4 separate regions of the Homo sapiens genome follow, and regions 1, 2 and 4 are each linked to region 3. Evidence: promoter capture Hi-C in 16 types of primary human blood cells and fetal thymus (Javierre and others, 2016). All regions are on one chromosome and are shown on one strand. Each heading gives the region's core, a stretch centred on a gene start or on the middle of the fragment in contact. The rest is flanking DNA. Distances are from core to core; before and after follow the strand shown. Region 1 overlaps TPD52-MRPS28 (TPD52-MRPS28 readthrough). Region 2 overlaps PEX2 (peroxisomal biogenesis factor 2). Region 3 holds the start of ZC2HC1A (zinc finger C2HC-type containing 1A). Region 4 holds the start of LINC01607 (long intergenic non-protein coding RNA 1607).

Evidence for each region. The method cuts DNA at HindIII sites, captures the fragments that hold promoters and counts their contacts. A CHiCAGO score of 5 or more calls a contact.
Region 1: a fragment that was not itself captured here is called in contact with the fragment with the promoter of ZC2HC1A in region 3 in 1 of 17 cell types (total B cells); the score reaches 9.8 in total B cells.
Region 2: a contact is called between a fragment that was not itself captured here and the fragment with the promoter of ZC2HC1A in region 3, in 1 of 17 cell types (non-activated CD4 T cells). The highest score is 5.6, in non-activated CD4 T cells.
Region 4: a fragment that was not itself captured here is called in contact with the fragment with the promoter of ZC2HC1A in region 3 in 1 of 17 cell types (monocytes); the score reaches 5.8 in monocytes.

Annotation. Positions count from the first base shown.
Region 1 is chr8:80,015,539-80,021,902 of GRCh38, reverse strand. All of the region lies in intron 5 of TPD52-MRPS28 (TPD52-MRPS28 readthrough), which reads left to right. All of the region lies in intron 1 of MRPS28 (mitochondrial ribosomal protein S28), which reads left to right. Among named protein-coding and RNA genes, the nearest start is that of MRPS28, 12 kb to the left of the region's middle. RefSeq lists a silencer at 4,855-5,149. The HindIII fragment of the contact is 1,067 bases long and covers 4,546-5,612 here.
Region 2 is chr8:76,976,601-76,982,970 of GRCh38, reverse strand. It overlaps PEX2 (peroxisomal biogenesis factor 2), which reads left to right. Exons shown (of 4, transcript NM_000318.3): 4 at 1-2,713. Among named protein-coding and RNA genes, the nearest start is that of MIR3149, 13 kb to the right of the region's middle. The HindIII fragment of the contact is 1,591 bases long and covers 3,771-5,361 here.
Region 3 is chr8:78,662,010-78,668,250 of GRCh38, reverse strand. ZC2HC1A (zinc finger C2HC-type containing 1A) reads right to left here and starts at 2,162. Exons shown (of 9, transcript NM_016010.3): 1 at 2,087-2,162. The coding sequence starts at 2,102. LOC105375911 (a long non-coding RNA gene) reads left to right here and starts at 2,272. Exons shown (of 4, transcript XR_007060972.1): 1 at 2,272-3,246. RefSeq lists enhancers at 2,009-2,058, 2,023-2,530, 2,531-3,039 and a silencer at 2,129-2,348. The HindIII fragment of the contact is 1,596 bases long and covers 1,152-2,747 here.
Region 4 is chr8:79,766,726-79,773,496 of GRCh38, reverse strand. It overlaps LINC01607 (long intergenic non-protein coding RNA 1607), which reads right to left and starts at 5,355. Exons shown (of 4, transcript NR_125410.1): 1 at 5,279-5,355. It overlaps LOC101927040 (a long non-coding RNA gene), which reads left to right. Exons shown (of 6, transcript NR_110954.1): 5 at 1,875-1,930; 6 at 2,492-4,125. HEY1 (hes related family bHLH transcription factor with YRPW motif 1) reads left to right here and starts at 5,730. Exons shown (of 5, transcript NM_012258.4): 1 at 5,730-5,922; 2 at 6,203-6,278; 3 at 6,405-6,488; 4 at 6,765-6,771. The coding sequence starts at 5,834. RefSeq lists silencers at 4,558-4,727, 4,828-5,187, 5,228-5,707 and an enhancer at 6,158-6,207. The HindIII fragment of the contact is 475 bases long and covers 3,692-4,166 here.

The sequences.
Region 1 (6,364 bases), core at 3,830-6,329, 1.4 Mb before region 3:
CATACTATAGTCTTCTAAAATGTTACCATTGGGAGCCCTGGGTAAGGGTGCAGGGGCTCTCTATGTATTCTTGGTTACAATTGCATGTGAATCTACAATGATTTTTAAATAGAAAGTTAATTTTTTTTAAAGGGAGCATTTCACTGGTCTCTCGGGCCCAGCACTGATAAGACCATTGAATTCCATAAACATGTGACAGTTATCCCACATTATTTCCTGTAAGGTAATTTTTTGTTGTTAGAAGCAATGCAGTGTAGAATACCAGAAAAATCCAAGAATAGTTAGAAGTAAAGTTCCACATGCCTACCTGCATACCTTAGCCTTTAGTCAGACAACTTCTGTCTTACTAGAAACCTTAAAAGCATCCCTTGGTCCCAGTCTATGCATCTGTCAGCATCTGGCTTACAGCTCTGCTCATAAAATGAGAGAGAGACTGACTGTCCAGTCTCCTTTTGTAACTGTTTTTCCCTATCTAGCATAATGTTTCTCCTGCTCCCACGATATACCACTATTACAGAGATTTCTAAACTTTTTTGATCATGTCCCTTCATTAATAAATTTTTGAGCAGATGTTCCAGTATTTACTTAAAAAATACATTTGTGGCTGGGCGCAGTGGCTCACACCTGTAATCCCAGCGCTTTGGGAGACCAAGGTGGGCGGAACATGAGGTCAAGAGATCAAGACCATCCTGACCAACATGGTGAAACCCTGTCTTTACTAAAAATACAAAAATTAGCCGGGCATGGTGGCTCATGCCTGTAGTCCCAGCTACTCGGGAGGCTAAGGCGGGAGAATTGCTTGAACATGGGAGGCGGAGGTTGCAGTGAGTCGAGATTGTGCCACTGCACTCCAGCCTAGCGCCAGAAAGAGACCCAGTCTCAAAAAAAAAAAAAAAGTGTGTGTGTGCGAATATATATATTCGTACTGTAGTTTCTTTTGTTATATACATTTTAAAGCATTTACACATAAAAACATTTTGAAGGTGAAGTTAAAAAAAACAAATAGAAATTCCAGTGTTTTCTTCTTCTGTCCTATGGGTTATGATAGAGATCACTATTCTTTGTTACAACCTGACCTTTTTCCTTCAGGCCTGCTCTGTAAATGTGTGTTCGTTGGCCACAAATTTCCTATGTCTTTTTACGAACAATCTCCCCTTTAACCTTCTCTACAAGTATTTCTTGCTTGCTTTCTTGGTTTCCCTTGATAACACTGCTTCCCTTCTGGTCTTCCCTAGTATAGATTGCAACGGGTCTCAAGGCTAGGAGGAAAAAATGACTCATCTTCGTTCTCGTTTCTCAGTACCATTTCAGACTACTGTTCTATCAGAAATACTTTAAAAAGGCTCCTTGATAAAAATCTTTTCAATTCTTTCCATTTTTCGTCAGCATCTGGCTCACAGCTTTTCTCTTTTCTTCATACTTACCATTTTCATTGACCAGCATTTACATTTGTAAACCAAAAATAAAATTCTAAAGCCCCCTCAACCATCTGAATGGACCCCTCCTGTCAGCCAAGGGCGTTCCAAAGTTAACCTGAAAAACTAGTGCAGGCCGTGATGGGAAGGGGGAGCCAGACGTGCCTCATTATACCTCCCTCCTTTCAGAATTAGTGATAGAAATGACTCTTTAAGTCTAGTAAGAAACATTTACAATCTGTTTTCTCTGAAGCCTGCTACCTGGACGCTTCATCTGCATGATAAAACCATACTCTCCACAATGCCTTATGGTCACGCAGACATTCCTTTCTATTGATAATAACCCTTTCAACCAATTGCCAATCAGAAAATCTTTAAATCTACCTATGACCTGGAAGCCACCCTCGCAACCTGCTTCTAGTTCTCCTGCCTTTCTGGACTGAACCAGTGTAACCAATGTACATCTTACACGTATTGATTGATGTCTCATGTCTCCCTAAATTGTATAAAACCAAGCTGTACCCTGACTTCCTTGGGCACGTGTCTCAGGACCTCCTTAGGCTGTGTCATGGGCGTGTCCTTAACCTTGGCAAAATAAACTTTCCAAATTGATTTAGACCTGTCTCATACTCTTGGTTTACACATTAATGACTACCAATACTTTGGCCACATAGTTTTTTGTATATTAACCTTATATTGTGTAATGTTGCTGTAATTACTTATTCCAGGAGGTTTTTTTCTTGTTGATTCTTTTTGATTTTCTACATAGGTCATCATGCCATCCATGATCATACACAGTTTTATTTCTTCCTTCCCAATCTGTATACTTTTATTTTTTCTTTTTGTCTTATTGCATTAGCTAGGACTTCTAGTACAATGTTGAAAAGCAGTGATGAGAGGGGACATCCTTGCCTTCTTCCTGTGCTTAGTAGGAAAAGTTTCAAGTTACTTACCATTACATATGTAGGTTTTTTGTAGATATTCTTTAGGAAGTTGAAGCTTTCTCTAGTTTTCTGAGAGTTACTATTATGAATGGGTATTGGGTTTTGTCAAATGCTTTTCCATTTGACGAAATGAAATACGACCATGTGATTTTTCTTCTTTAGCCAATTGATGTGATGGATTACATTTTTTTTCTATTTTTAATTTTTGTGGGTACATAGTAGGTGTATATGCTTAGGGGGCACACGAGATACTTTGATACAGGCATATAACATGTAATAATCACATCATAGTAAATAGAGTATCCATTCCTTCAAGCATTTACTCTTTGTGTTAACAATCAAATTAAACTCTTTTAGTTATTTTTAAATATACAGTTAAATAATTATTGCTTATCACCCTGTTGTGCTCTCAAACACTAGGTCTTACTCATTCTTTCTAACTACTCTTTGTACCCATTAACCATCCCCACCCCCTTATATACTATAAGTATACTATATCACATATAGGGGAGTGGGGATGGTTAATAGGTACAAACCCCCAATACCCTTCCCAGCGTCTGGGTAACCATCCTTCTACTCTGTCTCCATGAGTTCAATTGTTTAAATTTTTAACTCCCACAGATAATAACATGTAAAGTTTGTCTTTCTGTGCCTGGCTTATTTCACGTAACGTAATGACCTCTGGTTCTATCCATGTTGTTGCAAGTGACAGGATCTCATTCTTTTTTATGACTGAATAGTAGTACTGCATTGTGTATATGTACCACATTTTCTTTATCCATTCATCTGTTGATGGGCACTTAGGTTGCTTTCAAATTTTGGCTATTGTGAACAGAGCTACAGCAAACATGGGAAATGTCTCTTCAGTATACTGATTTCCTTTCTTTGGGGTATAAAACCAGCAGTGGGATTGCTGGATCATATGGTGGCTCTATTTTTAGTTTTGGTTATTTGTTTTTTGTGGAACTTCAAACTGTTTTTCAGAGTGGTTGTACTAATTTATGTTCCCGCTAACAGTATATGATGGTTCCCTTTTCTCCACATCCTCATCAGCATGTATTACTGCTGGTCTTTTGGATAAAAGCCATTTTAACTGGGGTGAGATGATATCTCATTGTAGGTTTGATTTGCATTTCTCTGATGATAATGATGTTGAGCACTTTTTCATAAGCCTGTTTGCCATTTGTATGTCTTCTTTCGAGAAAGGTCCATTCAGATTATTTGCCTTTTTTTTTTTTTTTTTTTTTTGAGACAGAGTATTGCTCTGTCTCCCAGGCTGGATTGCAGTGGCACGATCTCGGCTCACTGCGAGCTCTGCCTCCTTCCGGGTTCATGCCATTCTCCCGCCTCAGCCTCCCCAGTAGCTGGGACTACAGGCGCCTGCCACCATGCCCTGCTAGTTTTGTTTTTGTATTGTTAGTAGAGATGGGGTTTCACCATGTTAACCAGGATAGTCTTGATATCCTGACCTTGTGATCCGCCCGCCTCGGCCTCCCAAAGTGCAGGGATTATAGGCGTGAGATTATTTGCCTATTTTAAAGTTGGATTATTAGAATTTTTTTCCTATAGAGTTGTTTGAACTCCTTATATATCCTGGTTATTAATGCTTTGTCTACATTTTGATTTTTGAATGTTAAACCTGTCGTAAGTCTCAGTTGTGGTATATAATTTTTATATGTTGTTGGATTTGATTTGCTAATATTCTGTTGAGGATTTTTGCATCTACATGCATGAGAAATATTGGTCTGTAGTTTTCTTTTCTTGTAATGTCTTTGTGTGGTTTTGATATTAAGATATTACTGTCCTCATAGGATAAGTTCCACTCCTATCTTCTGAAAGAGATTGTAGAGAATTGGTTTGATTTCTTCTTTAAATGTTTGGTAGAACTCACCAGTGAACCCATATGGACCTGGGGCTTTCTGTTTTGGAAGTATATTAATTACTGATTTAATGTCTTTAATAGACATAGGCCTATTCAGATTATCTGTTCTTCTTACTTGAATTTTGGCAGACTTTGTCTTTCAAGGAATTAATCCATTTAATTTAGGTTATCAAATCTGTGGGTATAGAGTTGTTTATAGTATTTCTTTAATGTTCATGGGATATGTAGTGATGTCCTCTCTTTCATTTCTATTATTAGTAATTTGTGTCCTCTCTTTTTGTTTTTCTTAGTCTGGCTAGAAGCTTACCTCAAATAACCAACTTTTGCTTTCGTTGATTCTATTGATTTCCTGTTTTCAGTTTCATTGCTTTCTGTGCTAATTTTTATTTTAGATAAGTTGTGTTTTCATTTTCATTTAGTTCAAAGTATTTTTAAATTTCTCTTGAGATTTGTTTGACTCATGTTATTTAGACGTGTATTTGTTTACTCTAAGAATTTTGGGATTTTTGAGCTATCTTTCTATTCCTGATTTCTAGTTAAATTCTAGTGTGGTCTGAAAGCAGACATTGCATGATTTCTATTCCTTTAAATTTGTTAAGGTGTGTTTTATGGTCCAGAATGTGGTCTGTTTTGGTGACTGTTTCATGTGGCATGAGAAGAATATATATTCTGCTGTTGCTGGATGAAATTGTCTACAGATGTCCATCATATCCAGTTGATTTATGATGTTGTTGAGTTCAGCTATATCCTGAGTGATTTTCTCCCTGCTGGATCTGTCCTTTTCTGATAGAGGGACATTAAAGTCTCCAACTGTAATGATTCATCTATTTTTCCTTGCAGTTTTGTCAGTTTTTGCCTCATGGTTTTTGACTATTTTTAGGCATGTACACATTAAGGATTATTCCGACTTCTTCAGATAATTAACCCTTTTATTATTAGCAAATTGTTTAACATGAACAAACTGTTAATTGTTAGATCAATTACTAATTAAAAACTTAAAAGTTTTAATTTTACCTTCACATATTCCTTCTCTGTGTTCTGCCTTTCTTTATGTAATGTAGATCTGAGTTTTTGACTTTTATAATTTTCTTCTTTCTAAAGAATTTCTTTAAACATTTCTTGCAAGGCAGGTCTACTTGCAACAAATTCCCTCAATTTTTATTTGTCTGAGAAAGTCTTTAATTCTCCTTCATTTTTGAAGGATAACTTGTCAGGGTACAGAATTCTAGGTTAGTATTTTTTTTTTTTGTTTCCTCTTAACACTTTAGATATCTCACTCCACTGTTTTCTTGATTGCATGATTTATGAGGAGAAGCTGGATATAATTTTTATCTTTTCTCCTCTGTAGGAAAGCTGTTTTCCCCCCAAGCTTCTTTTAGAATTTTTTCTTCATCTTTGATTTTTCTGTAGTTTGAAAATGATACTATATGCCTAGATGTAGTGTTTTTGGTGTTTATTCTGGTTGATGTCCTCTGAGCTTCCTGGATCTGTGGTTTGGTGTCTGATATTAATTTGAAGGAAAGTCTTAGTCATTATTGTTTCAAATATTTCTGCTGTATTTGTCTTTCTTCTCCTTCTAGAATTCCCATTAGTTTACACCTTTTGTAGTTGTCCCAAAGTTCTTGAATATTCTGTTCAATTTTTCCCTCAATCTTTTTTCTCTTTGCTTTTCAGTTTTGGCAGTTTTTATTGAGGTATCTTCAGAGTCACAGTTTTTTTTTTTCCTCAGCTGTGTCATCTACCTGTAAGCCCATCAAAGGCATTCTTCATTTCTGTTACAGGGCTTTCGATCTCTAGCATTTCTTTTTGATTCTTATTTAAAATTTCCATCTTTCTGCGTACATTGCTTATCTGTTCTTACATCTTATTTCTTCCGTTAGAGCCCTTAGTGTCTTAATCATAGTTGTATTAGATGCCTGGACTGATAATTTCAGTATCCTTGCTGTGTCTGAATCTGGTTCTGATCCTTGCTCTGTCTCTTCAAACTGTGTTTTTTGCTTTTTTGTCTATCTTGTAATTTCTTTTTGATAGCTGGGCATGATGTATTGGGTAAAAGGAATGGCTGTCAATCGGCCTTTAGTAATGTGGTGATAGGGTGTGTGGGGAGGGAAAGTGTTCTATAG
Region 2 (6,370 bases), core at 3,317-5,816, 1.7 Mb after region 3:
CTTCTTAAAACAAGGTTGGATTCTAAAGATAAAGATTTTGGAGACTCTGGGATGAGTGTGCATTTATTTTCAGAGTTGACATAATATGATAATGTGACAATTATGAGACTGTTTTAAACCTTAAGACCTGATGCCTCAGTTGTAACTTTTTTTTTTTTTTCTGAGACGGTGTCCTGCTCTGTCACCCAGGCTGGAGTGCAGTGGCGCGATCTCTGCTCACTGCAACGTCCGCCTCCCGGGTTCAAGCAATTCTCCTGCCTCAGCCTCCCGAGTAGCTGGCACTGCAGGTGCATGCCACCATGCCCGGGTAATTTTTGTATTTTTAGTAGAGATGGGGTTCACTGTGTTAGCCAGGATGGTCTCTATCTCCTGATCTGGTGATCCACCTGCGTCAGCCTCCCAAAGTGCTGAGATTACAGACGTGAGCCACTGTGCTTGGCCGCCTCAGTTGTAATGTTATGCTTTTCTCTGAAGCCAATTTTTAAGAAGTTCAGTCCTCAGCTGTCTGACCCCTCCACAGTTGGCTTTATATTCAGAAAGTAAAAATTACTTAAGGCAGCTTGGAAGTGAGGCCTGGGAACTACTGGGGGCAACTAGTATGAACAGCACTATTTACAGGTCTCTTTCTCTTGCCTTTGATTCAGAGCTGTCATTCTCAGTAAATATTGATAGTTTTATTGAAACAAAAGGGGTCTTTAGCATGGGAATAGTAACAGCAGTGCATAATCAAGATAATTCTGTATCCTTCACTCTTTTTCTCTGCCTTTTTTTACTTAAAAGTAAATTCAGACTCTTAAAATGGTATAGAATTATTAGCTTGAACATTGAATTATCTCGTCTTAACTAGAATGTTTTTTAAAAAACAGTTTTTAAATGTTTTTAAATAAACATCTTGCTAGTATGATGGAAATACACTGCCAGTTCATTTTTCTCTTCACCTTTCATTGAACAAGTACTCAGGTGCCAGGTACTGATGTAGCCATTAGAGGCACAACAGTATATTAAGCAGGAAAAATCAAGTTACCTTCATGGAGTTTACATTCTGTGATTGAATGAACTGTAAGTTTAATTTAGGTTCAATTTAGTGTAAGATACTGAAGAAGTTTTGTAGTTTGAGTTAAGAGTATTTTACATCTTAAGAATTTGCCTTCTTTTGCCTTCTGTAATTTTAAAACATTATTGTAGAAAACACCAACAATTCAGGAAAAAATATAAAATCAACTTTCCCACAATTTTTTGAGAGAGATCATCACTATATTTTACTATATTTGTAGATTTGTTGCACGTACATTTCTTATTTACAAAATTATTATAATGCATAAAAAATAGCATTTTTTCCTATGTATAAATATTCTTCAAAACTATTTTAGGGCTGAGCACAATGGCTCATGCCTGTAATCCCAGGCTCCCTACTTAGGGAGGCTGAGCCCAGGAGTTTGAGTTCGTTTCTAAAAAAATAAAAATATATACAAACGTCTTTGTTTTTTGTTTGTTTGTTTGTTTTTGGTGAGAAAGGGCCTCACCCAGTCACCCAGGTTGGAGTGCAGTGGTGTGATCATGGCTAACCGCAGCCTTTCCCTCCCAGGGCTCAAGCGATCCTCCCATCTGAGCCTCCCAAGTTGCTGGGACCACAGGCCCATACCACCATGCCTGGCTAATTTTTGTAGAGATGAGGTCTCACTTTGTTGCCCAGGCTGGTCTTGAACTTCTGGGCTCAAGCAGTCCTCCTACCCTGGCCTCCCAAAGTTGTGGGATTACAGGCATGAGCCACTGCACCCAGCCATAATATATTTTTAAAATGCTATGTATATGCCATCATATTCCTATTCCTATTATTATTTAACCACCATCATAGAGCATTTAGGTTCTTTTCACTTTCTGTTGTGAATAATGCAATGTTGAATCTGAGTTCATTAAGTGAAGAGTCCAGCTGCACACTGCAGGCCCAGTCTGGATGTAGGTGCTCAGATGGTTCTCTTTGAGACAGGCTTTATCCTTTGGCTCTCATTTTTTTGATGAGTGTACATGGCATGAGGGACACAGATTCCGCTAGAATTCAAATCCCACTTGTGTATAACCTAGGGCAATGTGCCACATCTCTGCACATCTGTTCATTGTAAGGATTACATGTTTAGTGTATATAAAGCTCTTAAAACAATGCCTGACACATAGTAAATAGAATATAATAGTAGTGCTTTCCTTTGCTGTTGTCAGTATTACTCTGAGTCGGTTTCATTCTCACACAGAATGATGGCCGCTAGAAGCTCAAGGCTTATAATCTGCTAGCTTTCTGATCCCACTGGCATGAGATACTCTTGCCTAATAGTTACAGCTAAAGTCCAGGAGCTCACTGTTACTGGTCTGCCTTGGATTATGTGCACATTCCTGAACCAGCCACTATAGCTAGGGGATGGAAAATACTGTTCCTGGTTACTTAAATGTAGGTGATGCTCCTCCCATATACCACATGAACCTAAAGGAGTCCTGGAGGAGGCCGTTCACCACAGGAAACTGAGGTGTTCTTAGAAGGGTGGATGCTGGCAGATCTCTACTAGTTAGAGTCTACATTTGCCTTACTCATTTCAAAAGTCCACATTGCAGTCTCATTTTACCAGTGATCTAGCTTGATAAGGACATTCATAAGTAACTGGATGATTCTTTAACATTGCAGATTTGAAAGGATTAAATAAAGTCAACAAAATTGTTATATCAACAATTGTATTATTTTGATAGAGTAACTTCTAAGTAGTTATCCATATTCTCAAAATCTTAAGAAAACAGTACTTTACATATATGCCAGCTGATAGACTTGTCAGTATTGGGGTAGGGGGTGGTTTTTTTCCACAGACCCTAATGGCACTTAGTAAAAATAGGTTTTTATTATTTTTCATTTTTATTTAACATCTGCCACCCCTACTAGGTGATAACCCCCATGAGTTCAGAGACCATGACTATTTTGTTCATCACTAGATAGCCAGAGCCTTTTAGTTCTAGTGTAGCAATAGAAACATTTTATTAGCTGAATAAACCTAAGGTCGCAGATAGGGTTCTGCAGAAGCTGGCGTTGAAAGGGGTTTGAAGTACAAGAGATTTTTATGTATAACTCTCAGGGATCCATGCCTGTGAAGGGAAAGAGCAAAGCAGGAATAGGCAGAAGAAATGAGAGTACTCTAAAGCAGGCCTGAAAAAAGTTGGCCAGCCCAGAGGGGAGCTCTGAGCTAGTGTCATCTGTCAGAATGTCCTAAATTAGGCCAAAGTAAATAGGCCTTTTTACCTACACTTCTGTCAGTCACTGGGTGTGGGCAGCTCTGGGAAGGTTGTGATCTCAAGCATGGCAGCTCTGTAGCGGAAGCAGATCCTGTGGGAGCCAACAGCTGGAGGCAGTCCACTGACCACATTCCACAGCTGGGCACCATGTACATCCTTGCAGGAGGAGCCAGGTGGCATATCTTGGTGTGTACCACATCTAATACTGTCCATTTTTTCCTTTCTGGTTTCCTTTTTTTTTGTTTTTCTTGCATATAGTACACTGGACAAACAACACACTAATGCCAGGTAGTGTTCGTTTATAAACAATAGATTTATGACTGACACACCCAAGTGTCTCTTGAGTATCTCTGCCCCACTACAAATACCAGACTTCTTGGCCAAGTTGCTATGACAGCCCCCAGGAACTCCATTCAGTCTCTGCCTCTCTGGGCACTGCCAGAAGAGTTGCTATACCTCTGGTGCGACTGTTTCTACTCCCCAGCAGGCTCCAGGCTCAAGCTTTAGGAAAACTGGATGGGATTTAGCTACATGATATGTTTCCATGTTAGCCTCAAGTATGTAACCATCAGTTACAAGTGTTCTTCCTTAGGAAAATAAAAACATTTACACTTAACATTTTTCTTTTCTCTCCCTTGCACTTGCTCTCAAATCAAGTTTGCTACTTTTGTATTTAAAGTACCCAAGTGACTTCAGTGATCATATCTAAATTACTCAGATATCAATCAGAGCTCACACAAGGCATGTCCTACTACTTTGCTCTCAGCTCCCCTGCTTTCAGTATTTAGTGACTGGATTTGGGACAAGTTCATTTAACTTAAGATTCAATTTGTTCACCTATGAAATGGACATTCAATAATGTCTACCTGTTAGAATTCTAATGGGAATTAAATAAAGCATTCTCTCAAAAATTATCTATTGAGCCCCTGCAGACATTCCTTTTCCGTACTCAGGGAATGCATTCATGAATACCACAAAACACCTGCTCTCATGGAGTTTACATTCTTAGAGGGGTGATAAATAATAAAGATAATTTCAAATGTTAGTAGTACTCTGAAGAAAATAAAACAGGCTTTGAAATGGGGAGTGATAGGGGTTGCTGTATTGAATTGTGTGCTTGTGGAAGGCCTCTCTGAGGTGATACTTAAAAAGAGATATGAAGGAAACGGAGAAAGCCAAGCAGAAAAGGGGTGCTAGGGTAAGGAAATGGCTGCGCCCAGTCTCTGAGATGAGTCTTACCTTTTTGAGGAACAGCAAGAAATCCCAGTGAACCAGAGAAAGAGGTGGGAAATGAGGTAGGCGAGGTGAGGTCATGCAAGCCAGGGGGAAAATACCTGGATTTATTCCAGCTCTGAGGAGGCCAGAGGAGGATTTTAAGCAGAGATGTGACATGATCAGATTTACATTTTTAAGGGATCACTCTGGATAATTTGTGCAGAGGTATGAGTCAAAGCAAGAAAACCAGGTCAAAGGCTATTGCTAACAGTCAACATGAGCCATGATTGTTATTTCCATTAACAGTATCACTGAAATGGTCTGCAATCTGAAATAAAGCCTGAAGAAACCTAAATAGATTTTAATAGATTCTATCACCAAAGCTATACTCATGGGACAGTTTCTCAAGTCTCCAGTAAGAGGCTGCTTTATTTTGAATAGAATTCTAATCAACTTTCACCAACAGATTAAAAATAACAGACGAAAGAGAAGAGGAAAACTGGTAAAAGCAAGCATGGTTTACCATAACAAGCAATAATGAACAACTTGGTATCAAAGAAGAAAAACTTAAAAACAGAGTTTAATCTGGTATCATTTAGAGTGGGACACACAGGCTCTGAGGACTAACTGTGAATAGTAATTGTGGTTTTAAAAAATGACCTTGTATCATCAATGAAATCTACCCTATATTCTGTTTGATTTGGTTAAGAAGGCAGAAATTAGTATTGCTCTGTTCGAGAAGCCTTCAAAATGGGATGGCACTTAGAGGCAAAAATTTGGTTTATTTGAAACATTCAGTTTTAGCAAAAAACATTCAGTAAGCGTTGTTACTGTTTAAGACAAGATCTTTTTCAGCAAGAAAACAGTTCTAAACAAGCTTTTTAGCCAAACCAATTGGCCATATTGTATATACAACTGATGATCCATGGTCCTCTGCAGCTAGAACTACTATGTAGTCTACATTTATACTCATCACCACAAATAAGTTAGCAAACATTTTTCTTTGGTAAAAAAAAAAATTTCTGTCTGGGCACGGTGGCTCACACCTGTAATCCCAGCACTTTGGGAGGCCAAGGCAGGTGGATCACTTCAGGCCAGGAGTTGAAGACCAACGTGGCCAACATAGCAAAACCCCATCTCTACAAAAAAAAAAAAAAAAAAAAAAAAAAGCCAGGTTTGGTGATGCATGCCTGTACTCCCAGCTACTTGGGAGGCTGAGGCAGGAGAATCACGTAAACACAGGAGGCAGAAGCTGCAGTGAGCTGAGATCAAGCCACTACACTCTGTTGCCAGCCTGGGCAACAGAGCGAGACTCTGTCTTAAAAAAAAAAAAAAAAATTCAACTTTTATGTTTAGGGGGTACCGTGTGCAGATTTGTTACCTGCATATATTACATGATGCTGAGGTTGAGCATAGTGGATCCTGTCACCCAGGTAACAGGTGACAGGGTATTGAGTATAGTACCCAATAGTTTTTTTTCCAACTCATACCCTCTTTGTCTCTCCCTACCTAGTAGTCCCCAGTGTCTATTATTGCCATCTTTATGAATACTGGTTGTTTAGCTCCCACTTATAAGTGAGAACATGTGGTATTTGGTTTTTTGTTCCTGCACTAACTCACTTAGGATAACAGCCTACAGCTGCATCCATGTTGCAAATAACATGATTTTGTTCCTTTTTATGGCTGCATTGTGTTCCATGGTGTATATGTGCCACATTTTCTTTAGCCAGTCCACTGTTGCTGGGTACCTAAGTTGATTCCATGTCTCTGCTATTGTGAATAGTGCTGCGATGAACATGGGAGTGCATGTGTCTTTTTGGTAGAACGACTTATTTTCGTTTGCATATATACCCACTAATGAGTTTGCATAGTCAAATGGGAGTTCAGT
Region 3 (6,241 bases), core at 913-3,412:
GAAAGAATGGATGAATTAATGAACGGTAACCTTAAGACTCAGAGTTTGATATTTGCAAGGTGTGATCTCTTAGGGGAGGGAGAGGGGAGAAGGAGGAAGGAGAGAAAGGCACCATCCTAACTTCAACAGAAAATTCTCAAGAGCTTTTATTAGATTGAACTGCTTGAAATTACCAGAATTCAACTGTTTTGCCCTACATAATTTAGGGCAACTTCACATATTTCAACTCAGTTTATCACAATTAAACACATTATAGTTAATGATAGCATCTTATTTTGTAAAAAAAAAAAATCTAAAAGTAAAGGGCAAGCACTATTAACATCATAAGCTGGGCCCTATAACATCATAAGCTGGACCCATAAAATATGCCTATAAATACAGAATCCTACCTTTGTCCACCTATGCAACTGAGTGTCATAATAGGTTTCCATTATATTTTAAAAACATTCGTAGTAAGGTTTCAATAGTAATATCTTAGCACTGTTAAAATGTAAGGTCCACTAAAATGTAGGTTCGATGAGAGTAAAGCTTTATCATTTTTATTCTTTGCTGCAACCTAGAACCTAAAAAGATGCCCATAATAGACATTTATTTAACAACAAATATTTATTGAGTACCTACTTTGTGTCAGACATTGTTTTAGGTGCCTAGGATACATAAGTGAAAAATCAGATGATGATCTTTGTCTTAATAACAAATGTTGAATAAAATAATAAAAATCTGCAAACTGTTCAAAACACTTTATAGATAATATGTAATAAAACCTTATCATATTATATATGATAATCTCATGAGAATTCCATAACCCATGCTTTAATCCCACCAAGATACAAAAGTATCTTGAAAGTAAAATATACTGTACTATCATTACAATTCCTTATTTCATGGAAACTTGAATTATCTTCCAAAAACACATAAGCAAAAAACAAGACCTTCATTAGGCCATAGCATACTGCAGCTGTCCACAAACGGAAAATTATCAGAATCATTTATCAGAGCAAAAGCACGAAATAAACTTCTACTCATGTTATTACATCTGCTTTTTGGTGAATAGGTGACTGAAAAAGTTACCGGCTACCACTTTGCACTTCATCACACAATGTAGAATATTTTACTCCCTGGCATGCAACAATACACAAGACTCAAAAGCTTCTGCTCATTCTTAATTCCAACTGAATCCGTGTAAACTAGGAGACGGGGGAAAGGAGCTAAATCAAGACAATAGGATCTTTCAATTCTGAAGGTTTGTTCTTCATCATAACAAATTAAAAAATCTTGAAACTGTTGTTGCCAATGCTAGTTATTGTGGTTTTTGTCCTTCCTTTGTTTTTAGGTGAATGCTTTCATTACACAGGATAAAATGGGTAAACAGAATAGAGAAAAAGTGAAAGAACTGGGAACAAAGCAAAATCTGGAGTCATGGTTACAGTACAAAGATAAACCCAAAGATAAGGAACCAATACAGGCTCTTCCTCACACAGCGGCCGTGAATAAGTCATCAAATCCTCCGGGTAATCTATTGTACCGGCTCTAAAGCTGGCCAGTGACACTTCCTTAGGAGATGCTCTGACATCCCTCCGACAGAAGATGCTGTCGAAATGTAAAAAGCCGGTTACCTAGGGAAATCGGCCAAGGAATGTCAGGAGCTCGAGGCTGGAGACACACCCCGGGGCTGCAGCACAAAGTGGCCTGTTGGTGTTAAGGCCGTGGACAATAATGGAGAGAGTCCAGTACAAGGAAAACAAAATCTGGCCAGAGACTGGGATCACTAAAAGGGCACTCAGGAGTCAAGCAAGATCAGAAAATGGTAGGAAGAGACGTGCAGGCGTCTTGCCAGGGGCAGGATCTGGCTCCGGGCGGGAAAGCCCAGTTGAAGACCGTCTGAGGCGGGGCAGCCTGGTAGCGTTAGCTCCACCGCATCGGGGACTGTCCGGTTCCCTTCGGCCCCAGCCTCCGGAGGCGCGGCGGGACGCGGCGAGGTCCGCCGCACCGAACCAGCCCTCGCCTTCCTGCTACTGGTGTCCAGGGTCCCCAGCTGTTTCGGGCCCGCTCTAGCCGTCCTGCCCTCATCCCTTCATCGCCTCACCTTCCAGTCCCTCCATCGCGCCACCTCCTCGAGCTCAGCGAGACTCCTTCAGCAGCGCCCGCCACCGCCCAGCTCTGGCTGTAGCAACCCAGCCGCACCTCCCACCCGCTAACATTCCGAGCTCCCATTGGTTCCGCAACTGCGGGGGCGGGGATCCGTGGGGGCGGGGCCGCGGCGGAGGCGAGGTTCCTGCGGTCTCCTCCTGGCTGCCACCCCTGTCCGTCTCTCCGGGTTACTCTCCAGGGAGCCGGGAGCCGCTTCAGGTTGCAATCTGCGATGCAACGGCGCCTTTGTTTGACTCCAGCCTTGTTTTGCCTCATACCTTATCCTCCTATTTAGAGTACCTCAGCACCTCATGGGCTCCGCTTCACCAGTTCCTCAATCAGTCAATGCCTCTGACTTCTAGCCGCCATCCCTCCCAGTGGATACTTTAAGCAGGCAAGCAAACCAAACAAACGCCCAGCACGCTTGCATGCAGCAATCTCCGTTTTCCGGTCTTTGGTCGCATGACTTGACCTCAGCGTATCCCCTACACTTGATCTTCACACACAGCTTCATAGGTTAAGACACTTTTTTTCCAGAGAAATCATACTTTCTATCTGCGATTGTGGAACTGCGATTGCTCTAAGCCCTTGAAAACAGTTTCCTCACCATGAAAGCTTGGGCCAAAAATTAGAAGTGAAACCCAGCCCTCCCTCTGTCTTCTACTCTTGGCCTACCTTGGCCCTATACTTTATCATCCATAAACCAAAACAGTCGCCTGGCCTGACAATGTTTGATCGGGGAAGTTTGAGTTGGGGAATTAACCTACAACCTGACAGAATGAGGCCCGCCCGTCTCTAACAGAGTTCAAAACCTCCTGAAGATGAAAGTAACTTCAAAACTAACTCAGACCATTTTAACGGTTTTGCTTACAATTACCAGAACTACATTTCTTTGAAAATTTGATTTAGCAATCGTAAACAAGCTGTACTGTTTGCTGACTATAGCGTATCTACTGGCAAGTTACCAGTATTAATGTGTTGTCCATAACAAACCTCGGATTAATGTTATTGTTAATCTGTTTAATTGAAGAGTTTAACTTCATATCTAACTTCATCTACTATGAAATCAGTTACCTTCAGGAAGCAGGATTCCTCCTACTCTCCACTCACATGAAGGTATGTTTAAACAAGCAAACACTTGAGGGGGCATCATCTCTTACTGAGAAGGTGCTCCAAGTGCATTTGAATGTGGTAGAGTCCATCTGTTGTGTGGAGCCATGTAAAGACCACTTCAACCATGCCTCAATGACTCCCTCCGCCCTTCCCTGGTTCCCCTGGCTCTTCTGCTTCTCTGAGATCCTGGGCCTCCTTGGCCAACCCATAGCCTTGCAGGCAATAAGCTACTCTAGACTGGGTGCTGCGGAAAGGTCCTTTTTCTTCCTTAGTGCTACTAAGGCAAAGGTAGAATTTTTGGTTGGGAGGGAAGGCCTTTTAAAAGAGCATTAAGGAGAAAAAAAAGCACACAGAAGAAAATACAAAAATAAGGAAGCCATTATTTTACAAATTACAAGTTCTTTCACTGAAGGCAAGACGAATATTGAGTTGGCTGATACCTTATTCGACATAAAATCTACAGTAACATTAAAAATAATAAAAATAGCATTAAAGAATAAATCATGTGAGGCATGTTTTAGGCCATTTTCATATATTCACAAATCTTCAAAAGAAATCTACAAAGTAGATACTACAATCTTCATTTATCAGAATTAAAATGTTCATTTTCTAGATGTCTCAGAGCAATTAATATTTTGTCAATATTTGTATTATTAGTGGATGGTAGAGCTTGGCTACACTCTTGTCTGTTAAATTCTAAAGCCTATGGTGATTTGATTGGGCTCCTCACTCCCTTTCCTTGCCTTGCCTTTTATTATAGCTGCCTCAAGTGTAAACCCAAGCGTTCAGACATGTTGTTTAACATATATTTGAGTAGGCATTTCTATTGTGAATCTTAATTCTCTAAAACATGATTGCTAGTCTTCCCTACAGGTATCTTCATAACTTTTATGCTTTTGGTCTCTTCATAACTTTTACGCTACAGCTACCCTGGCTCCTGCAGCTTTTCCCTGATTCTGACCCCTGAGTAAAGAGGACTTCTTCCTATCTGCCTTCAATAAGTTCTTTCCTCTGCCGCCTACATACCTAGCCTGAGAGTCTTGTCTTGGCACTGTATCATGACATTACTTCCTCTCCAGTCTAATCCATTTTTCGGCATGCATTCATTCAACAAATGTTTGTTGAGTACCTTCTATGCTTCAAGTCCATTTTATCACTAGCCAGTTACTCAAATGAATGAAACTCAGCTTCTTCTCATGTTTTTAAGCACTTACCTGTACATAATTTTTCTACCTGCCATGTGATCTTGTTAACTGAAAATAACATTTATAGATCAATAAGAATTCGAGATCTTCTGACCTCCTTATCATACAAAAAGGAAAACAAACTTTCAGAGATGTTTCTGACTTGGTCAAGATCACAAAACTAGTACTTAACTGAAATAGATATTGTATCTGTGTTTTATTACATCATACCTTGATTCTTTCCACTTTGCATTATATTGCTTTCAACCACCATTCCCTTAAGCAGATCCACATCTATTCTGCACATCCCAAAAAGCTGAGCAAGCTGCATATAGCTTCTTGTTTCAAAGCTCCAGTCTCTTAAATCCCACACGAAGTTCAAGTCCCCTTTTAGAGAAAGCCATTGGTTCTCATTCATATCATTTGCAGAGCACAACTAAATGAGATTCTGAGTCTCGGTGAGAACTCAGTTTATCACCTCCACTATGTAGGACATTTCTTCCTTCCATGACCAGAAGAGGAATAACCTACCACAATTTAGCATATAAAAATAATTCATACATTTGGTAATCATAAGAAAATGATAATTTTCATCAAAAACATAAGAAAATATTTCCCTTAAAACTGTTCTAGAGGGAGGAAGCATATTCTGAGTTGGCTCTTGCTAGTTTTATTTGAAGTAAAAATAAAATTTTCTAAGTGTTCAGGGGGAAAATAGTGATAGTTTCTCATGGCCTGGAATAATCAGAAAGCATATAGGTAGGCTGTCACGGGTGAAGATTTATTGAAGGAAAAATGTCCTAGACAAGAAACATCAAGAAAAGAAAGAGGGGCTTTAAAAAAGTGAGGAACTTAAAGCAAACTTTACCTACTACATTGATTGAAAGGCTATTCCATTCATAGTGTGATAGCAATTATTCTAGCTCTATGCTTCCCTACTTTCAAACTAATTTTCAGCTGCAAAAAGATCAGTTTTTTTTTTCAAGTTTCGGCTATGATCTTGCCTATCCATCCCTTTGCATCACAATTTCAAATCTTAACTAAAAATCTATTAACCAAAATGTTTATTGAGGTCCTCTCTAGACTAGTCCATTTTTCTGATGCATTCTTTCAACAAATATTTGTTGAGTACCTTCTGTGCTTCAAGTCTATTATATCACTAGCCAGTTACCAAAATGAATGAAGCTCAGCTTCTTTTCTTACGTTTTTAAGTATTTGTCTGTGCATATTTTTTTTACCTGCCATGTGATCTTTTTAACTGAAAATAACATTCATAGACCAATAAGAAATTGAGATCTTTCAACCTTGAGTACAACACTGCTCTAGGCACAACAGAAAGCTTCAAAGAAATCTCTCTGATCTCTAGAAAGTTAACATCTAGTAAAGGAAACCGTGAGCAAGACATAATACAGGGCAAAAGAGTTGTTAATAGTATTAAGTTTTAGATGTTGTGGTACAGCTTATAAAAGCAATTGGTTACAGGAAGTCATTTACATGAATGGAACAATTTTAAAGGTTTTTTAGAAGTAGAACTTAAATTGTGTCTTGAAGAGTGTCATAGGATAGGTAGAGATCACTGAGGATGAGGGAAACATGGCATAATCCTCCTTAAGAAAATGATGCAAGCCTGGCATGTTTTGGGACAATCTAAAGAAGCAAGGAAAATATTTGTATCTATTTTGGTTCATGTGTAACATTTGTTTCTCTTTACATTATACAGCACAAGCATTATGGCTATATAATTTATATCTTTTTAATCTTAGGGGCAAGGTGTTGAGTTAATGATACTCACTAACACACAGTACATACTTCAA
Region 4 (6,771 bases), core at 2,680-5,179, 1.1 Mb before region 3:
CTTTGTCTCATCTTATCTTTTGAAAAACAAAATGAACGCTGAGCTATTATTTTATGGATGAGGAAACTGAGGTTCAGAGGGTAAAGGTGTGATGATAAGCTCAAGGTCACACAGCTAGTAAAGAGTGACTTGAACCCAGGCAGGTGATTTGAAATCCCTGCTTTTTCCACTGTACCATACCACTGCCTGTTAGGGTTCCAATTAAACAATTCCTTCAAGGCAAACACCAAGGCATCTCACATCTGACCTCAATTAGGAAAGTTGATAGTGGAAGTGCACTTTTGCATGGCATGACATGCCACAAAGCAATCTGGTGTTTGAGATGCTGCATCTAGAGAAAGCAGCAAGCATGAGGAACAAAGGAAAACTGTCACTTAGTCAAAATTCCTTGTGTTCTCATGAAGGAGCCATCTCTGAACTCCATGAGTACACTCCTTACTTATACATGTATTATAGCGCTACATGCTCAGGAGATGTTTCTTAGATTCAAAAAGCAAAACTTTCACTAATAATGAATAGCAGATGCTTATATTACTCAAAATAATCTAGTGCTCTTAACAAGAAGCACTGTTTCCTTCTCCTGATGTTAAAAGGATATTACTTTCTAGAGATTCTGTTAATATATCCAATTACTACATAATTATTTATACTGCCTTTCAACCTCATTAGACGTGTAACAGAGTATCAGAAGAAAACACAAAAGTAACTTAGTGCTCAGAGTTTATATACTCATGGGCAGAGAAGGTATATTAAAAGCCAATAATAGCAGATGCTGTTTATTGGGTGCTAACTAGTGGCCAAGTATTGTTGTAAAGTGCTTCATATAATTGATCATATTTAATTTGTGACATTGGAAAATAACTATTACTAATATCACCATTTTTTTTTTTGAGACGGACGGAGTCTCACTCTGTCGCCCAGGCTGGAGTGCAGTGGCGCGATCTTGGCTCACTGCAACCTCTGCCTCCCAGGTTCAAGCGACTCCCCTGCCTCAGCCTCCCACGTAGCTGGGATTACAGGTGTGCGCCACCACGCCCGGCTAATTTTTGTATTTTTAGTAGATAAAAATATCTACGAAATTTCACCATATTGGTCAGGCTGGTCCTGAACTGCTGACATCGTGATCCAACCACCTCGGCCTCTCAAAGTACTGGGATTACAGGCGCGAGCCACTGCGCCCAGCCAATATCACCATTTTACAGATAAGATTATTGAGGCTTAAATATCATGTAGCTAAGAAGAACTTGTGAGCAGCTTGATAGAGATTGTGGCTTTTCAGCCTGATTGCTCTAGGCCTGGCTCAGTGCCCAGCACAGACTAGGGGCTTTATACAAATTTGTCAAGCAAGTACATAAGCAAGCAAGCCCTAAAGGTTTCAGCCAGCCACTGGCTAGCTTTACCTAAAACTTGTTTTGACAAAGACCTTTGCCTCAGAATGGTACAGCAATTAGACTAAGAGGTTAGAGAGAGCGGCAGCCCCTTCTTTCTCAGAGCTGCAGGTGTAGCCTCTGGTCCTCCTGAGCACTATGTCCCATGCCTGTTCAATTGAGATCACCTGCACCCACCAGCAAACTGACAGAGACAGGGCCTCATGAAGGGTATCCAAGTAGGGACCTCCACAGTGGCCAAAGCTCTAATGAATGAATAATTGACGACTGGGGCTTCCTCAAGGCCAGTCTCACACCCAGCTACTGGTTGCATCCCTTCCAACAAGCTGGCCACCCTAAGCCTCGTTCATAGAGAAATGCTGCAGCTGGAGTTTGAGGATGAGCTGTTCCTCCCTGGAGATTCTACCACTTTTCCTCTGGGGAGGCCCTCACCTGGGCCTGGCCTTTCGAGTGAATTCCTAAATCTGGAGTGTCTCTCTCTTCCAGGACATCTGGAGTATCTCTTCTGCAAGGGAACGCAGATAAAAGCAGCCTGCGGAACGGTAAGCTAAGTAACTGAACCCAGACTCTACAAACCAGGCAAGAAAATAGGCCTTTGAGCGAAATAAAAAAGGGTGATTCTTCAGGAGAGACGAATTATAAAAGGCAACACTTGCCCACTTCCCCACCCCCAAATGGTAAAAGGTCCTTTTCCTGAGGGGCCAGGCCTGGGCAGTCCCATTTAAGTTGCAGAAGGGGTCAATTTGCAGGACGTACCTTTCATTCAGGGTAGCAAAGATGTTTAAAGTCGTTCTTCACTCAAAGCCTCCAGGGGTAAATCCCTTCTACACAGCAGATGGGAGAAAATTGGGCCTGGTGCCCTCAGTGTAACTCTCTCCTCTGATCCCACCACTCAAGGAAGAGGTCTCCGCCCCTTCCTTCCCGGTTATTACTGAACCACCTAGTTCACCTCTTCTTGATCTTAAGTCCCTTCCAAACTCAGAACAGGCCTTCCCAGACCTCATAAAGAATCCTCACCCCCTCGTTTTTCCTTACCAACAAGTGCTTCCAAGCACTGGAGCATCCATAACTACTTTACTGTGTATTCTCTGTCTTCTCCCTAGGATGTGAGTTCTAGGAGTGCAAGATGGATGACTTTTGGGTCACCTTTGTGTTTTCAGGCCCTAGCACAGCACATGGCACATAGAAGAATACGTATTTATTGGAAGCATTGAAAAATCAGTCAAACTTAAGAAGCAAGACAACCTCATTTGTAATTTTTTTAGAGACAGAGTCTCATTCTGTTACCCAGGCTGGAGTGCTGTGCAATGATCATAGCTCATTGTAGCGTTGACCTCCTGGGCTCAAGCCTCGGCCCCCAGAGTAGCTAGGACACAGGCCACCATGCCCGGTTCATTTTTAAATTTTTTCTAGAGATGGGGATCTTGCCGTGTTGCCCAGTCTGGTCTGGCACTCCTGGCCTCACGCAAACCTCCCACCTCAGCTTTCTACGAAGCTAGGACTACAGGTGCATGCCATGCCTGGCTAATTTTTAATTTTCTTTTTTAAGAAATGGGGATCTTGCTATGTTGCCCAGGCTGATCTGGAGCTCCTGGACTCAAGCAATCCTCCTGCCTCAGCCTCTCAAAGTGTTAGGATTACAGGTGTGAGCCACTGCGCCTGGCCGTAGAGAACCTCCTTTTTGACATAAAAGTAATCATGAACATGTGAGCAATATTTCATTTGGATGCCAATGTAGAGTTAAGCATCCCTAACCCCACCCGGTCTCGTCTCACTCAACATCTGCAGCTTGTCCACGCCTCTCCACAGCAGCAGAAATGAGCCAAAGCAGGAAAGGCTGACTCATTGTAGGTGCCAGAGGCTGGGAAAATCTATAGAGCCAGAGGGGAAGTAGACACGTTGGTTCTGGGGAAGGGTGGCCTGTCACTTTGGGGAAAGAAATGGAAGGTCAGAGGGACTTCTGGAAGGCAGAGGGGAGCAGGTGGGATGGTTTCCTATGCCTGGACCATCAGTTTCTGGGAGGGAAGAGGCAGGAAGTAGTGATGGATGCCCTGGACTGAAGACTGGGAGGGCCAGGAAGGAGCCTTAAAATTTGCACTTCCAGAGAGAAAGTCGGCTGGTGGGATTGACCTCGGACTGACAACTAACAGGCAGCATGCGGTGGAGTTTCAGGAAGCCAGAGGTCTGGGGTGCCAGCAGCAACAAACCCAGGCTGGCTGATGGAAGGGCCCAGCCTAGACAGGGAAGCAGAGGGGCTGCATGGAAAGGCTCAGGGCTGGAGGTGATGTGAAGTGGAATAAGCTTCAGTGGGAGCCAGGAGGTTGTATTTCCCGTTGGGGGCGGTGGTGGAGGGATGGGGGTGCCCAGAGAGGAACTATGGATTAGGCCCAGGCCGGCCACTCAGAGTGCTTGGCATCCAGGATGTGTTAAGATGGCATTGAGGCCGAGCGCGGTGGCTTAGGCCTGTAATCCCAGTACTTTGGGAGGCCAAGGCAGGCGGATCACCTTTGGTCAGGAGTTTGAGACAAGCCTGGCCAACATGGTGAAACCTCGTTTCTACTAAAAATACCAAAAACAATTAGCTGAGCATGGTGGCGCGCGTCTGTAATCCCAGCTTCTGGGGAGGCCGAGGCAGGAGAATTGCTTCAACCCGGGAGGCGGAGGTTGCAGTGAGCCGAGATCGCGCCACTGCACTCCAGCCTGGGCGACAGAGTGAGACACCATCTCAAAAAAAAAATAGCATTGAGATCAATAAGGAAGTCTAGAAACCAGGAAGCTTTTTGCAAAGAGAAAACGCCTTTTGTTATTCTCACCGATGGATATTAAGCTTTCCCTCACAGACAGGACTACAAGCTTCAGAGTGGATCTGAGATGAATGCGAATTGCTGTGTACCTTTGTAAGGGACAGAAGACCGGATTTTCAAATTTAAAACAACCATTCTGTTTCTGGAATCAGAAATCAGTTTCGAGATTTACAACTGTATTTTTTAAAAAATCTGTCTTCTTAGTGGACTCGGGGGGGACTTCACGTGGCACCCAGTACACGCCACGCCAAGCCACCGAAGCCAGAGGTGTGTGTCTGGGGCCAGAGACGTGCATTCCCTCAGCAAGGCCGGCCTCAGACGCAAACGCCAGCACCGCCACCCTGTCGCCCGCTGAGAGGATCTGGCCGCCGGGGGGAGGGGGCGGGGGGGGGGGCAGCGGGGGAACAACAAAAAAATCCCAGCATAATGATTATTCCCAGGGACCGTTGGGTTTTTTTTTCCCCAAGGCGGCCGAAAAAACAAGTGCTCCCCTTCCCCGGAAATGAGATGCACAGGGGTATTCATTCCATTCCGCGGCTGGGAAGCCCCTGCGGAAACGAGTCTGGCTGCATGTGCGGCCTCGGTCCCAGAAATCAAAAAGAGCGTCCCCTGAGCCCACAGCTTGCTCCTCCATGTGACCGGCCCCTGGGCTGGTGGCCACTGTGGACGCGCCCGGCGCCCCCTCTCCCGGCTCCCTGCGGGTTCCGCGGAGCCGCCGGCGCGCAGCCCGGCCAGGTGCACCCGGCACGGCCCCACTAACAGCGCGCGCCTCCAGCCGCCGGGCACTGGCGGCCACGCGGGCGAGATTTACGGTGGCGCTAGGCGGCGGCTTCCGAGGCCGGCCGGCGCCCAGGCTCCGATTACAGGTTCACACTGGGGGCCCGGCCGGCGGCCGCCCAGCCCCCGCCGGCGCGCCCTCGCGCGGCCCGGCTCCCCGCCTGCCCATTCTTCTCCATTCATGCGGACGCCCAGCGCCGCCGCCGCCGCCGCCAGCGCGGCCGCCGCCGTCGCCGTCGCCGGCCGCCCGGATTGGCTGGCGGCCGCGGCGCCGGCACTTTCCCACGGCCCGCGGCGCGTGCGGCTCACCGGAGGCGCTGCAGGCTCGGCCCTGGCGCGCGGCCAGGCCAATCGGGGCGCGCGGGGCGGGGAGGAGCCGCGGCCGCCGGCGGGCTTGTGTCCCGGCCCGGCCTCCCGCGCCTCCCCGCCGCCCGCGCCTCCTCCTTCCCCTGAGTGCAGGCTGGACAGAGCCCCCGCGGAGCCGACGCACCGCCGCCGGGCAGGGGCGGGCGCGGAGGGCGGGGGCGCGGTCCGCTAGAGCCCTCGGCCTCGCTCCCGCCCCTCCCCGGAGCGGCTGCCAATCAGCGGCGCGAGAAACCGGATTGGCCGGGGGGCGGCTGTTGCCCTGGAGTTGCCGCCCCGCCTCTCCGCCCCCTCGCCCGCCTTCCCCACTCCCCCGCCCTCCCCAGGGCCCTGGGAAGGGGCTCAGCGTGGGAAAGGATGGTTGAGTTTTAACCAGAGGCAAAGCGTGAGCGGGATCAGTGTGTGCGGAACGCAAGCAGCCGAGAGCGGAGAGGCGCCGCTGTAGTTAACTCCTCCCTGCCCGCCGCGCCGACCCTCCCCAGGAACCCCCAGGGAGCCAGCATGAAGCGAGCTCACCCCGAGTACAGCTCCTCGGACAGCGAGCTGGACGAGACCATCGAGGTGGAGAAGGAGAGTGCGGACGAGAATGGGTGAGCTGGCGGCGGCGGAGCGGAGCCGAGCCAGAGCGGGAGGCGAGCGCAGGCCTGCCGCGGTGACAGCGGGCTAGGACCCTTGGCGCGCCGGTGCCCTGCGCTGACCTCCGCGCGTCGCAGGCTGGCGGCAGCCTGCGGCCAGGGAACCCCTAGGTGCCTTCCAGCCCAAGTGGCAAAAAAAGTCTGAGTGCGGGGAGGGTGTGGGGGCGACCTCTCAGATCACCTCTCCTCGTTTAACGGCGATTTCAGTTTTTGTTTGTTCTTTTTCTCTTTTCAGAAACTTGAGTTCGGCTCTAGGTTCCATGTCCCCAACTACATCTTCCCAGATTTTGGCCAGAAAAAGACGGAGAGGAGTGAGTCTCTTTACACTCTCCTTTTATTTTTGTTATTGATTAACGGAAATAACCACCTTTTTTTTTGTCTTTGAAATTTACAGTCGTAATGGTAATGCCTTCCTTTGTTTTGCTTGCCTTCTGCAGATAATTGAGAAGCGCCGACGAGACCGGATCAATAACAGTTTGTCTGAGCTGAGAAGGCTGGTACCCAGTGCTTTTGAGAAGCAGGTAATGGAGCAAGTAGGTAAAGCTCTCAGCATAGCTATCTGCACCTTCTGAATCTTCCCCTCATTAATCTCATCCGCCTTGGAAAATAGCTGTGTTGCTTGTGCCTAGATGAATTCGTACACAGATACCAGCGTATTTTGTGAAGACAACTGATTTTGCTTTAGTCCATGCTTTACGATTTACAAAGCATGTATCTTTGTATATATGTTTGCATATTTTAAATTGTTCCCCAAAGGAACTTGTGCCAAATCAATCTTTTGCCATTCTCATCTTTAGGGATCTG